2 separate regions of the Homo sapiens genome follow, and region 1 is linked to region 2. Evidence: promoter capture Hi-C in 16 types of primary human blood cells and fetal thymus (Javierre and others, 2016). All regions are on one chromosome and are shown on one strand. Each heading gives the region's core, a stretch centred on a gene start or on the middle of the fragment in contact. The rest is flanking DNA. Distances are from core to core; before and after follow the strand shown. Region 1 overlaps STPG2 (sperm tail PG-rich repeat containing 2). Region 2 holds the start of PDHA2 (pyruvate dehydrogenase E1 subunit alpha 2).

Evidence for each region. Contacts are between HindIII fragments. The CHiCAGO score rates a contact against its expected background, and 5 or more counts as called.
Region 1: a contact is called between a fragment that was not itself captured here and the fragment with the promoter of PDHA2 in region 2, in 1 of 17 cell types (megakaryocytes). The highest score is 5.7, in megakaryocytes.

The regions. Positions count from the first base shown.
Region 1 is chr4:97,718,088-97,724,881 of GRCh38, forward strand. The region is part of intron 9 of STPG2 (sperm tail PG-rich repeat containing 2); the gene reads right to left. Among named protein-coding and RNA genes, the nearest start is that of STPG2-AS1, 350 kb to the left of the region's middle. The HindIII fragment of the contact is 1,296 bases long and covers 798-2,093 here.
Region 2 is chr4:95,836,345-95,843,507 of GRCh38, forward strand. It overlaps PDHA2 (pyruvate dehydrogenase E1 subunit alpha 2), which reads left to right and starts at 3,749. Exons shown (of 1, transcript NM_005390.5): 1 at 3,749-5,120. The coding sequence starts at 3,807. The coding sequence ends at 4,973. RefSeq lists enhancers at 1,808-2,410, 3,266-3,767, 3,768-4,267. The HindIII fragment of the contact is 631 bases long and covers 3,463-4,093 here.

The DNA of each region.
Region 1 (6,794 bases), core at 196-2,695, 1.9 Mb after region 2:
AGCACCACTCTATTTAGCAAGGCATTCCCTCTGTCAAGACTGATACTTATCTCTGGGAATATTACATGTACAAATCAGGATAATGCTAAAACATGTCACATCACAGATGAAGTCACATAAAATCCTTTAAATAAAATACCAACTTTATTTTAAAAATAATTAAAACACTTGATTTAAATAAACTAAATTCTTCACAAACATTAAAGAAAATCACTAATTTATACCATTTAAATTGTGACTATTTTCCATTTTCTCAACTTGTTAAAAATTGTAAGGTTTCTAAATATGTTTGGATTTGAATCTGCTGCTAACATCTTTACCTGTATAGGTCTGCTAGGAAAAAGCTAGAGTCAAAGAGTTTAGAGTTTCCAGAAAGAGGAGCCTACATTATTTATTTAGTGAGAAGCCAATTAAGCAAAGATTAATATTTCATTTACAACTTAAATGAACAAATTCTGTAGCCTAAAGCAAATATATGTTATAGATGAAATGAATGATACAATACTTTTCATGCTTTGATGTCATCAAAATTTTTTTACATTCATTGGATATTAAAAAAGAACTATTAGATTAACCATTGAATATTTCAGTAACCTTTGTCCTCCTTTTTAGTGAACCAAAATCTATATATAGATTTAAATCTAAATAAGAATGCTTTTCTTCACCCTTACAGTATTCTTTGGTCACTATGATCCTGTAATCATGTAATGTAAATATTCTTAACCTTGTTCCTATGTCCTACTAGAATAAGAGACAGCAGACTACTGTGAGAATTCAGCAGCATTCTTCCCTTTCAAAGCTTCTCATCAACTAAGGCTGAATATTCCTAATCCAAAAATCTGAAATCCAAAGTACTCCAAAATCTGAAACTTTTCAAGCATCAACGTGATGCTCAAAGAAAATACTCATTGATACATTTCAGATTTTGGATTTTCAGATTAGGGATGTTGAACTGTTGAGTATAAGTAATGCAAATCTAAGATCCAAAAACTTTGAAATCTGAAACTCTTCTGGTCTCAATCATTTTGGATAAGACTACCACTGGTTAATTACAACCAAGATAACTAACAGTGGAATTTTTTACATTAATAATGTCTACTTTCAAATAATTAAGGGATTCTTCATCTGGCTTTAGTACCTACAGCTCACAGGGTTTATTCACTACCCTTCTATAGCTTTAGAAATGTTACTCCACTGGTCTCTGGCTGAACTTGTTGTAGGGCATGACACATCAGACTAAAAAACAAAAACAATCATATGCAGCATCATATATTTTATGTTGTTCATGGACCACAGACATCAGAATCATCCCAATTAGTGTAAAAATGAAGATTCCTTGGATTCATCCCAAAATAATAAATCATATTCTCTGAAAGTGGGACCAAGAAAACAATTTCAATAAAACCCATTGGTTTTGACCTCTAAACTACAATTTAGTGTGTTGTTGTTCTTAAAAATATTTATACTTTAAATCAGTTTTCTCTCAAATAATCTTGGTAACCAGTGATCCAAACAAAGAATAAACCTTCCGAAATTCTGGATGAGACTATAATTTTCTCTGAAATATATCTGAATCTTATGTGCCTGCCTACGGTAGAGCCTCTATAAATGCTTATTGAGCTGAACTGAACTGAATCAAGAAAGGAAGAATCAATTTATAAGCTACCTAGAATCTACTTCTGTGACTTTAAGCATTTTAACCATTTTCTTGTCATTTTACTTTCTTTTTAGTAATTGTCCATGAAAAGAAATAGATGGATTGAAGTCGCATTTCTATTTATAATATGCAAATAGCATTTAGATGATACATCACATAAATATTTGTAAACATGTTAGAGCAATTGTTACCTGGGAGGAAAGAGATTAACATGAGGCTGGCAGTATTAAGCTAGGAAAAAGACTTTCTTTTCAGTATACATCCTTCACTCAGTATGAATTCTGTTATGTGGATGTCATACTATTTTAATCTTGGACCAAATTGGCAAACTTACTTCATGATAACTGAAGAGGCAATGCTTGCAAGTATATTTTCATCTCTATGTTATTTTAGCCTATTATTTCTAGAATAAATCTTAAACCTAAATTGAAATTCAAGCTTTCTATAGCCATGTGACCTTGATTAATTCTCTAAATCATGCTCACCTTTAGTCTTCTCTTTTGTAATAGAAATTAAAAAAACCAGCTCAGAGAAGTTAAACAACTTTCATAAGCTATAAAATGAGTAAGGATCAAAGTACCTGCTTTTCATCCTTGGAATATCCCTGAGAGGGTAGAAAGGGGAAAATTATTATTTAAACTTCACAGGAAACAGAGTTAAATAGCAGAGCTGTGGCTTCACTTTATGGTTTTAACAGCTCTTTTTACTACTTCATGCTGCCTTCTTAATCTCCATTAGATGTCTCAGCACCTCCAAAACCATCAAATTTGCCAAACAAATATCATATTAATCAAATGACAATGTTATGCTTTTACCACAGCATGACAATTCTCTAAAAGGTGAACTGGGTCTAGGAGATGGAATAAATAAGCATAGTTGATAAATTTAGGGAATTTTTTTTTGAATTAATTACTAATTCACTAGCATACCAAAAATAGAGGTAATTTTTGTTTTACCCATATATTTTAAAAGTTGTAAGTATAAACACATTTAAGGAAAGCACAAATATCACAATTCTAAAAATCAAGTTGTCTTCAAATCTCCATATTACCACACTGCTAGTTGTCAAGGCTGCCACACACTGCTACTTTCAAAGCCTGTTATAAACAACAATAAAACAAATTCTAGAGTTAAATGCTATTTTTCTAGAATCCAATAGCACTACATCCTATCTTTGGGTGAAGGCTGCCTCTCTGTGGTAGAATGCAATGTGACGTCTTCCCTAAGAGACAATCTTCTCCCTCATATTTTTAACTAGAAATCATCTGTATAATATTCAAAAACATACAGATTTAAATACAGTGCCTTAACCATTTCTTTCAGGATTATACTTTTGCCTTCATGTTTAGAAAAATCTTTCAACTGCAAGGAACAGCCTCACTCATTTAGGCAAGCACGTATAGCAAGAGATGAAAACAGCATTTTTTGCTAGTAACAGAAATCAAGTAAAAACGAATTGCTCAAAAAGAACAGTCATGTTTGCTGTCTTTTTTGAAAGCTGAAGTCATTATTCACTTTACACGGAGTGACCTCTGCTGGTCAGAAAGACACATATTAATGGACATCATATCTACCAGAAAGCAGCTGTTATCTTAATTTCCCCAAGTAATTACTCAGATATATTGTGTGTCATAAGAGGAAGTTGGTTATTCACTTACAGTGCAACAATACAGGAGCATATCCTATTTCAAATACTGAAAGTCAAGAAGCAAATATCAAATGGATATCTTTTACAAACATTGAGTTAATTGTTATTTCTTCACTAATGTCCATTGTTAGTTGAAATAAAAGTAGACTCAAAAGGTCTTCTTATTATAAGACTTATTTTGAAAGGAAGTATACTCTATAATAAAAAAAATTAAGATTTTGGTATTTTTAACTATATGATGACCGAAAGCTTAGCATTTGTACACTATTAACTGAAATAAACAAAACATATTTATACAATAAACATATGACTTGTTACAGCTCAGAAGTAAAGAATTTATTTAGCTAAGTAATACAGTTACAAAAATTACATTTACCTTCTCTAAAACAGAACATGGTACACATCAGAAACTGTAAAACCTAATTAGGAGACAGTATCCAGAGACTCAGAGTAAACATTTAAACAACCAATATCAAAATACTCTTTTTAAAACATATATCACTGCAAAAACTGTGCAGATTGTTTTTCTTTATAATTTTAATAGAGGTCACAACCTTTGACATGAAATATATCAATAAAAACACCAAAGAATGTTGCCTACAAAAATTTTTTATTAAGAAAATTATTATATATCCTGATTGCTAATTATCACAATGTCCCCCTCCCCTCCTTTTTTTTTCTTTTTAACAATGTCCAGGAGGGGAAAAAAAAAAAAAGAAGCATATTTGGTCTTTGCTTCAGCAAATACTGAAATCTATTTATATGCAAATAAGCTATCCATGATTAGTATGAGAAAAGACTTGTGTATAAATGAGACATAAATTATCACTAGAAGCCATTAATGAAATCTATTTCAAAACATAACATTTTACAAGAGCCCTCACTCATGTAATATTTGCTTAAGCCTGGAGGGGAAATGGTGAGTTCTACACTTAGATGAAATCTGATACTACATTATTTCCCATGCCAATATGTTTTATAAAATGAATTTATCCTTTCCTTAAAAATGACTGGATAATTGTAACTCCAGTCTTTTTAGAGAACTTCATCATTAAAATCAGAGCCTTATGTGTTTGTCACATAATTGCCACACTTTTTGAGGGGTTTTATTTTGTGTCTGTTAGAATAATTGTCATTCTTTAGGGTTTAAAATGTTAACATTCATTTTGATATTCTACATATATTCATTTTTATATTCTGAATATAAAAATGAATAGATGAGTCTTAAGAGGGAACATGAGTCTTTCTGGAATAAGTTGAATTTCTATTGAAAATAATAAAATAAGCAATAATTAATAGACCTATAAAACACTTTTGTATACTTTTTTCATTTTCTTTTGGGATATCTTGTTTTGTTCTCCTTTACATCATAAATTTCTTTAGTCCATATTTGAGTCTCTGCCAATTTTTTTTTTTTTTTTTTGAGACGGAGCCTTGCTCTGTCGCCCCGGCTGGAGTGCAGTGGTGCGATCTCGGCTCACTGAAAGTTTAGTCTCCCGGGTTCACGCCATTCTCCTGCCTCAGCCTCCTGAGTAGCTGGGACTACAGGTGCCCACCACCACACCCGGCTAATTTTTTTTTTTTTTTTTTTTTGTATTTTTAGTGGAGACGGGGTTTCACCATGTTAGCCAGAATGGTCTCCATCTCCTGACCTCTTGATCCGCCAGCCTCGGCCTCCTAAAGTGCTGGGATTACAGGCGTGAGCCACCGCGCCCGGCCGAGTCCCTGCCAATTTTAAATATTGGAGATATTTCTTCTTTCTGTCATCTACTGAGCTTTTCCTAGGATGCCAAATGTTGAAGAGAAATCCTTCGTTTTAAAATAGTTAAGCTTAGATTTTTTTTTTATAGTCGTTACTTTTGGAGTTTTTAGTAAGAAGTATTTCCCCACTTTCTAGGTTGTAACAGTATTCTCTTAGACACTGAGGACTCCAAAAGGGGGGAGGGAGGGGTTAAGGGTAAAAATCTACTTATTGGATACTGTGTTCACTATTGGGATGACGGATTCAATGGAAGACCAAACCCCACCATTATGCAATATATTCATGCAGCAAACATGCAAGTGTACCCACTGAATCTGATTTCTTTTTAATTAAAAAATCAGTATTCACTGATATTTTCTTCAAATAACTTTGTAGTTTTACCTTTCCATTTAGGTCTTTAATCCATATAGATTCCATTTTTGTGCATGGTATTTTGTAAGGATCTAATCTTATTTTCTCTGGTAAATGTATTGGTCCATTTTCACACTGCTATAAAGAACTGCCTGAGACTGGGTAATTTATAAGCAGAAAAGGTTTAATTGACTCACATTTCCATGTGGCTAGGGAGGCCTCAGGAAATGTACAGGCATGGTGGAAGGTGAAAGGGAAGCAGGCACTTCTTCACGAGGCAGTAGGAGAGAGAGCATGAAGAGGGAAGTGCCACTTTTAAACCATCAGATCTTGTGATAACACTATCATGAGAATGGCATAAGGGAAACTGTTCCCATGATCCAATCACCTCCAACCAGGTCCCTCCCTCAACACGTGGTGATTACAATTTGAGATGAGATTTGGGTGGGGACACAGAGCCAAACCATATCAGTAAGTTTGTCAGTTTTCCCAGTATGTCAACTAAATAATTTTTGTTTACCTATTGAGTTGCAGTGACATCTTTACAATAAATTGTCTTCACATATACATTAATCTGTCTCTGAATTTTCTGTTTCCTTATCCATTTGTCTTGCTTTTGTGACAAAACCGCAAAGTTTTTATTAATATAGATTTGCAGTGTGTCTTAATAAATGGTATTGGAATTTCTCCCCTTCTCTATTCCTTTTTTTAAGCTCTTCATATACCTTTATTTTTACACACATTTATATGAGATCATTAATTTCTTCAAAATATCCAACTGGAATCTTAAGTGGGGTTACATTTATAGATTAAGAAAAGTAAAACTGATATCTTGACTATATAAAGTCATCACATTCAAGTGCCTAGAATAGCTCTTCATTTATTCAGACCACTATCTATGTCTATTATTAGTTTAAAAATTCTCTTTATGAAATTGTTTTTTCTTATTTAATCCTAGGAACGTTATTTTTACGGTGAGTTGTACATTATTTCATTACTCTTTTGAAAATGATCACTGCTGGTATTGAGAACTGTTACTGGCTGTGTAAGTCATTCTCTATCCAGCAAGTGTGGTGAATTTTCTTATCAGTTCTAGTAGTTTCTGGATATTTTTTAAATTTGCTATATGATGCTATAATCTGCAATTTAAAGTAGGTTTATATCTTTTCTTCCAATACTTCCTTCTTTTTGTGTTATTAGGTATTCTATCCTTAGGTATTGATGTGAACCACCTACTTTGTTAAGAAGGTGTGGTAATAGTAGGTATCCTTGTCTTCCTTTCTTTAAGAATAATATCTTAGTATTATAGCCTTTATCAAGTTAAGAAAGTTACTTGTATTCATAACTTTCTGAGATTTTTAAATCACAATAGGTAT
Region 2 (7,163 bases), core at 2,499-4,998:
GAACAGGCAAATAGATTTAACTCTGACTTGGACTTTCTTGAAACTGCTGTGATTTGTCAGGAATGTTTATTGAATTAATGATTTTTCCTTTGAATGGGGATTGTGGTTTTACAAAGCAACTCAAAATATTGAGCAGGAATCAGTTCAAAACTCTTGACTCATGTTCTAGTCCTCTACTGGTTGAGACACCAGACTGTAGTAAATCTTGACAACAGATTTTATACATAAAATTTTACTTCTTATGTCACTTGGCCATATTCAATTACAGCTCTAATTATAGAGAAGTTATTAAAATGTTCGCAAAGTTTTATTTTACAATTTTGCTTCATGATCTCTTTTATCATATATGTTAGACCCTCATCCCAAACTCTTGAAATAGTGGATTTAGCACTAGGAGCATGATGACTCAGATGACTCCGGTCATCTATCAGGAGAAAGATGGTGGTCCATCTGTTACACTAAAAATTAACCCACAATGTCTTCCTTTTTCTCACACCATCATTATCTGGGTAGGATGAGAAGCACTTCTACTTTACCTCTCATTTCTAATTAAGTCTTCTCTTTGAATTAATCTATCCTGGATTTTTATTTTAATCATATTTCAAATATAGTAAGATCATACAAGAAAAAATATTGTTTGCCCAAGCCTCTGAAGTGTTCTGGAATAGCTTTGCTTATTGTAATATTAGAGAGAAACTTTGCTTGATTGTCATCATTTTTCAAAATATATGGTACTGACATTGTGTCTTTTCTCCAACAGAGAAATTCTTCTCAGAGTTATATATATATAACTTGTAATTTTTGCACTAAGTTCTTACTCATCACTCTTAATTGCCAAATCTTAGAGCTATGAAAAAAATACACTGCCACTAATCATCTAATGAGATCTGATATTGCTTATCTAGAAAATATTCACTCTTTAACAGCTTTCTTCACCTAACATTTGGTGAAAAAGTGCAATAATTACTGAAGAAATGTAAATATCCTTCAAACATTCTCACTGTTCTTTTTCACATTTCCTTGTCTATTATTTAAAAAATATGTGTTATTGATGCCATGGGAGTGACACTTTTAAGATAAATTCAGAAATACCCCTGTAGGATCAACCATCAGACATGAAATGTGAAATGCTGTCACACTGGCATGAATGACTGCTACTATAATCACTGGCTCTTCTTTTATAGGGGTTTTTATTAATTAAATGTAAAGTCTGCCATTGGCCTTATAAGAGTGCTCATCTGTTTTCCTTTAATTTCAAGTAGATTAAAAGTGAGATTTGGTGTTAATTAAAAACTTAGAATTTATGGGGTTTCTAATTGCAAATAACATTTCTGTGGTGAGTACGTAGATGACTTCTTAGTTCTGTTTGGTAATCAACATAGTATTGAACAAGGACAGGACAAAAAATAAATCATTTGAAGAAAAGAACACCATCATTGGCTCTATTGTCCGTGAATAGCTTGAATCCTATCTAGCTGGGGGGCATGTAAGAGGAGAAGCTCAACAGCTCAGGATAAACATTTTACCCTGATGTCTGGAAATTTCATTCTTTCTTTGAAAAATGTAGATGGATTTGGAAGGATAGCAATAAAAGTCAAAAAGTCATTATCAAGATTAATCAGTTTAATTGAAATGCTTCAACATTGTTTGATTTCAGATGTCTATTTTTAAGTTGAATTTAGGATATATAGGGTAACTGATGACCAAGAGGTCTATGGGAGTTTCACATTTTATTATTTATTATCTTAACTAGATCCTGTTGAGAAATTTTTTTTTTTAAAGGACATCTTCTGTGGGAACCCGTAGTACAGATATTTTCCAATTAGCATCTTTGTATGTTCTCTTCTGGCATGAGTCGGGTTTAGGCTTGACACACTGGGCTTTTAAGGGGAGCTCTATCTTTGCAGTCCAGGCTACGTGTGACAAGATTAAATTGGCACACTTTACTGTACAGCTCTTGTGTTCCTGGCAGCACTGGCCTGGCTGATACCTCTGAGAGAAGGCTCAGCTGTCACTCACTGACCCATTAACACTACTGTTCTATCCTGCAGTGTCATTTTTCTCATTCTTATGGAGATAATGCTCCCTGGAGATCTCCAATACCTGGAGGAATGAAAGAGAACAGCAGAGACAGGCTAACTATCAAAGAGGGAGCAAACAACACAGCAAGACCATGAATTCCAACAGTTGAATTTTCAATTGAGTGAAAAGATGAGGCCTATTATGATGGCTGGGTTCAGAAGGTGGGGAGACGATCAAGTTTTAAGAGGTATCTTAACTTTTTAACAAGCTATTTTCTCTTTTCTTCCTGAATATTAAAAGAAGTGCCCAAAATAACACCTGCAACTAGATATAGAGAAGGCAGCTGCTTTGAACATGTAATAGGGACATTTGGGTAAGAATTTATCATTTGCAAATAGGCAATGGATATAAAACAGAGCATGCATTAAGGTGAATGGCTTAATATTCTAAATAAAACAGGATCCCTAGTTAGGGTTGGCTTATTGGGGCACAAAATCGCCTTCCTGGTAAAAGCACAAAAAGAGAGAAATGATATGTGATCTTTGTATCCCTTGGTCTAAGGCTTCTCTTCTCTTGTGATTGAACGGTTTCCAGTGGCATAAGCAAACTCTGTTGCTCTCTTGTAGTCCAAACTGTGTATTGTTTGGTGGGTCACTTTATAAGAAGTAACACTTTCTAATGGTTACTACATAAAAAGGCACTATAAGAACATGTTTCTAGATTTCCTGGACTAAGGCTGGTCCAGTTTGATTGATATGAAAGCAAAATAAATAAATAAATAAATAAATACCACCTGAAAGTCTATGGAAACCTGCTGAAGACATTTTTATAGAAAACCAAAAAGAAAAAAAAGAGGAAATAAACAAAAGGAAGAGCAAAAGTGAAGTAGTCAGAAAATAGGGATAAAACTAGGTAAAAACAGAGATTCAGAATTATTAAACAGAGTAAGGAAAAGTGGAATGTCACAAACTACAAACTTTTTACCACAATCTGCACCTCAACCCTCTCTCCCTGCTTCCAATTTTCCCACACCAAGCAAAGTTTATTACTGGGTTTAAAGTGTTATCCTCAGGCCGAGGTTTGTATACATTTTCCCTCCCCACTTCAAGTGTCACAGGTGCTAGACGCCATCAGGATAAATGTGGCATATTATTTGAGAGTACTGACTTTTCTTTAAAAGGGGTTTTTGTTAACGTGCGTGTGCTTGTTTTGTTTTTAAAGTTAATTAAGCTACAAATAATTTACAGCTTTGTTGTTACCTTAAAATACATATGGCACATTATGGAGCAGGATAAATATTCATACCTATTTTAAAGATCAAAAACAAGACATTAAAGAAATATTGGTAGGAAGAAATACCTTTGGACTAACTCTCAGAACTCTCATGTGCCTTAGGGACTGAGTTTGTTCCTTTCTTCTATTTGATACGCTTGTCGGGAAAGCTTGAGATACAGTGCTCCAGGGTTTAACAGGGAAAAGGGACTCAGATTATTGAGGTTCAGCAATGACGGCGATTAGGATGCCCTGTAGTTTGCCCAAGTCCTCCAGAAAAGGAAATCACTTTTAGTCTTCATTTTACAGCTGGCAGGCACTGTACAAATCAGTCAGCTCAGGCTGCGTGGCCCATGTCCCAGTGCTGTGCAGGACCTGCCTCTATCACCCGTGTGCACTGCCCGGATGGTGCCAAGCGCATTGGAGCACCGGAAGGAGACGCGGAGCCGAGGCCAGGCCTTCCGGCGGTCGTTACGGGACGCCGCTGCCATCTACAGCACTCCGTGAAGAATATGCTGGCCGCCTTCATCTCCCGCGTGTTGAGGCGAGTTGCCCAGAAATCAGCTCGCAGAGTGCTGGTGGCATCCCGTAACTCCTCAAATGACGCTACATTTGAAATTAAGAAATGTGATCTTTATCTGTTGGAAGAGGGTCCCCCTGTCACTACAGTGCTCACTAGGGCGGAGGGGCTTAAATACTACAGGATGATGCTGACTGTTCGCCGCATGGAATTGAAGGCAGATCAGCTGTACAAACAGAAATTCATTCGCGGTTTCTGTCACCTGTGCGATGGTCAGGAAGCTTGTTGCGTGGGCCTTGAGGCCGGCATAAACCCCTCGGATCACGTCATTACATCCTATAGGGCTCATGGTGTGTGCTATACTCGGGGACTTTCTGTCCGATCCATTCTCGCAGAGCTGACGGGAAGAAGAGGAGGTTGTGCTAAAGGAAAAGGAGGATCGATGCATATGTATACCAAGAACTTCTATGGGGGCAATGGCATCGTCGGTGCACAGGGCCCCCTGGGCGCTGGCATTGCTCTGGCCTGTAAATATAAAGGAAACGATGAGATCTGTTTGACTTTATATGGGGATGGCGCTGCGAATCAGGGGCAGATAGCCGAAGCTTTCAATATGGCAGCTTTATGGAAATTACCTTGTGTTTTCATCTGTGAGAATAACCTATATGGAATGGGAACATCTACTGAGAGAGCAGCAGCCAGCCCTGATTACTACAAGAGGGGCAATTTTATCCCTGGGCTAAAGGTCGATGGAATGGATGTTCTGTGTGTTCGTGAGGCAACAAAATTTGCAGCTAACTACTGTAGATCTGGAAAGGGGCCCATACTGATGGAGCTGCAAACCTACCGTTATCATGGACACAGTATGAGTGATCCTGGAGTCAGTTATCGTACACGAGAAGAAATTCAGGAAGTAAGAAGTAAGAGGGATCCTATAATAATTCTCCAAGATAGAATGGTAAACAGCAAGCTCGCCACTGTGGAAGAATTAAAGGAAATTGGGGCTGAGGTGAGGAAAGAAATTGATGATGCTGCCCAGTTTGCTACCACTGATCCTGAGCCACATTTGGAAGAATTAGGCCATCACATCTACAGCAGTGATTCATCTTTTGAAGTTCGTGGTGCAAATCCATGGATCAAGTTTAAGTCCGTCAGTTAAAGGGAGGCTACGTGTGAATTTATCATCAGTCTCTCAATGGAATGTTCATGGTCAAATTTAAGAAACTGTGTTCTCAACTCAAGGAGGAATAAAACTCATAAAACAAAAGCCTTGTAAGCATTTATTAAAAGAGATTATTAAAAGAGATTGAAAGACATGCATTCAATAAAAGTGATATTATATTCAATTATACTGTATATTTTTGCATTAAAAGATACTATATAGGTAACAATTTAGTGTGAATATCTTAAAGATTATTTTGAACTTATACAAGTCTAAAATAGGAAAAGGAGATTATTTAACTTCCCAAACTGTTTGTCATAACAGTTCCATTTGATTTAGCTTTATACTATTTTAATGCATTCTCTTCTTTAAAAGAAAGTTGTTTCCTGCTTCCCCTGCCATGGGTTTCTATGTAGAATCACCATCCTGAGGTAAGGAGATTATTTCAAGCTACTCAGGACACCTATGGATATGTAACCATTTACTTGAATTACCTAATAACGAATACAGTTTAGTGTAACAGTGTGCGCATGCGCACACCCACACACGTGGTGCTGAAGTTTGTTAACACTGACCGTTTTTCCAATAATATATGATATTTAACAGGGCAGGGGAGGAAGAACAAGGATTTTTTTTTTTCATATTATTGTATCTTGTTACAATATTTTTAGTCTTTTAACCCTTAAGGAAAAATATAGCAAAAATTAAAATCTAGGGGAAAAACTGCATTCCGCTTTAATCTTTAAGTTAAAGCTACTCTTATTTTGCAGTTCATTTATGCCCTTATATATTCTAAAATTTAATGGGCCATTCTGGTGAATTTCAGACTGAAAAATGAATAAACAGAGATGGTGATTCAAAGAGTTAAGCAGAGGAGGTGACATTAATAAAAAGTTGAAAGTAAAATCTACCTTGCTTCTTACTAGCTGTTAACCATGCGTTACTAATCACTACATGATCAACTATTTAGTATCTTTTAATGCAACAGAACATTCACAGATAACTTTTTCCAAAGGAACACACAACATGTCTTTTCTGCAGTCCAGCACCATGTCAATTATCAAGTCATGATTTGGTGAAAGCAGTTTTACATGGTTATATTCGACTACTTAAAATCCTGCTGAGCTTGGTGTTTGGTGTATGTTATTTTTCTGAGAGCAGAGATGATAATTTGCCTGTGATTTAAGAATAGTAGGTGGAACATACCAAAACAGTCAAAGGTTAACCCTTTTTCTTTACTGTACAGCATCTACTTCTACAAATAGAACCTAGATTCTAAGAAATAAGAAAACCAAAAGCTCAGAGGCCTGGGAGAAGATGAACATATGTACATATATATACAGGCTTAATCTCCGTATCTTCTCCCAAACAAGTTTAAACAGGTAAGATAACCTAACATTCCGAATTCGGAAAGCAAAGATAAACATTGTTTTGCTTATATGTAAGTGATATTACTAGCTAACATGTTTTGATTAGAACACCGCAGTTGTTCAGAGGTGCTTGGACTGGATTCCTACAATTAAAAACAAAAAAGGATTTTTCATACGACATTCAGAATAATAAGTACATCCTTCTAATGATAAAGAATTCTTTTTATTTTTACATACTGATATTTTCACATATTTGCAAGTGGAAGATAAGCTGCTCAATTAAGGCTATTTTACATATGCAATATACAGAAATAATTTTTAAAGTTTTTCAATAGATTCTTTTGATGACAGCAAAAATTAAGATACAAATAATTGATTAGAAATGAAACCATCCCTAAATCAAGATACATAGATATTGTACTTCACTTCAGGGAAATAATCCAAATTTTGTTGTTAGAGGAATAAAGCATGTTTGTCACAACACAATATATGTTATCAAATTCCATTAAAGAAGGAGGTTTTCAATGTTTTCTATATTAAACAATGTTCAGATTTCTTGCATACATTGAGTAATTATAATCATATCACTGGTTACGCACAATTCTGTAATCATGCAAAACAAAAAAAAGCAACCGAAAAATTCAAACATGTTGTTTTCAATTAGGTCAAGATTTATTGCTTGACTAATGATAGCAATAATTTATCAAGCTGTAAACAAGAGAGGTGTAGAAATCTAGCAATTGGATTCTATTTCTTGTCTATAGTACTGGGTTACTCAATCTGTTTTATCCTCACGTTAAAATACCTACTAAGTTAT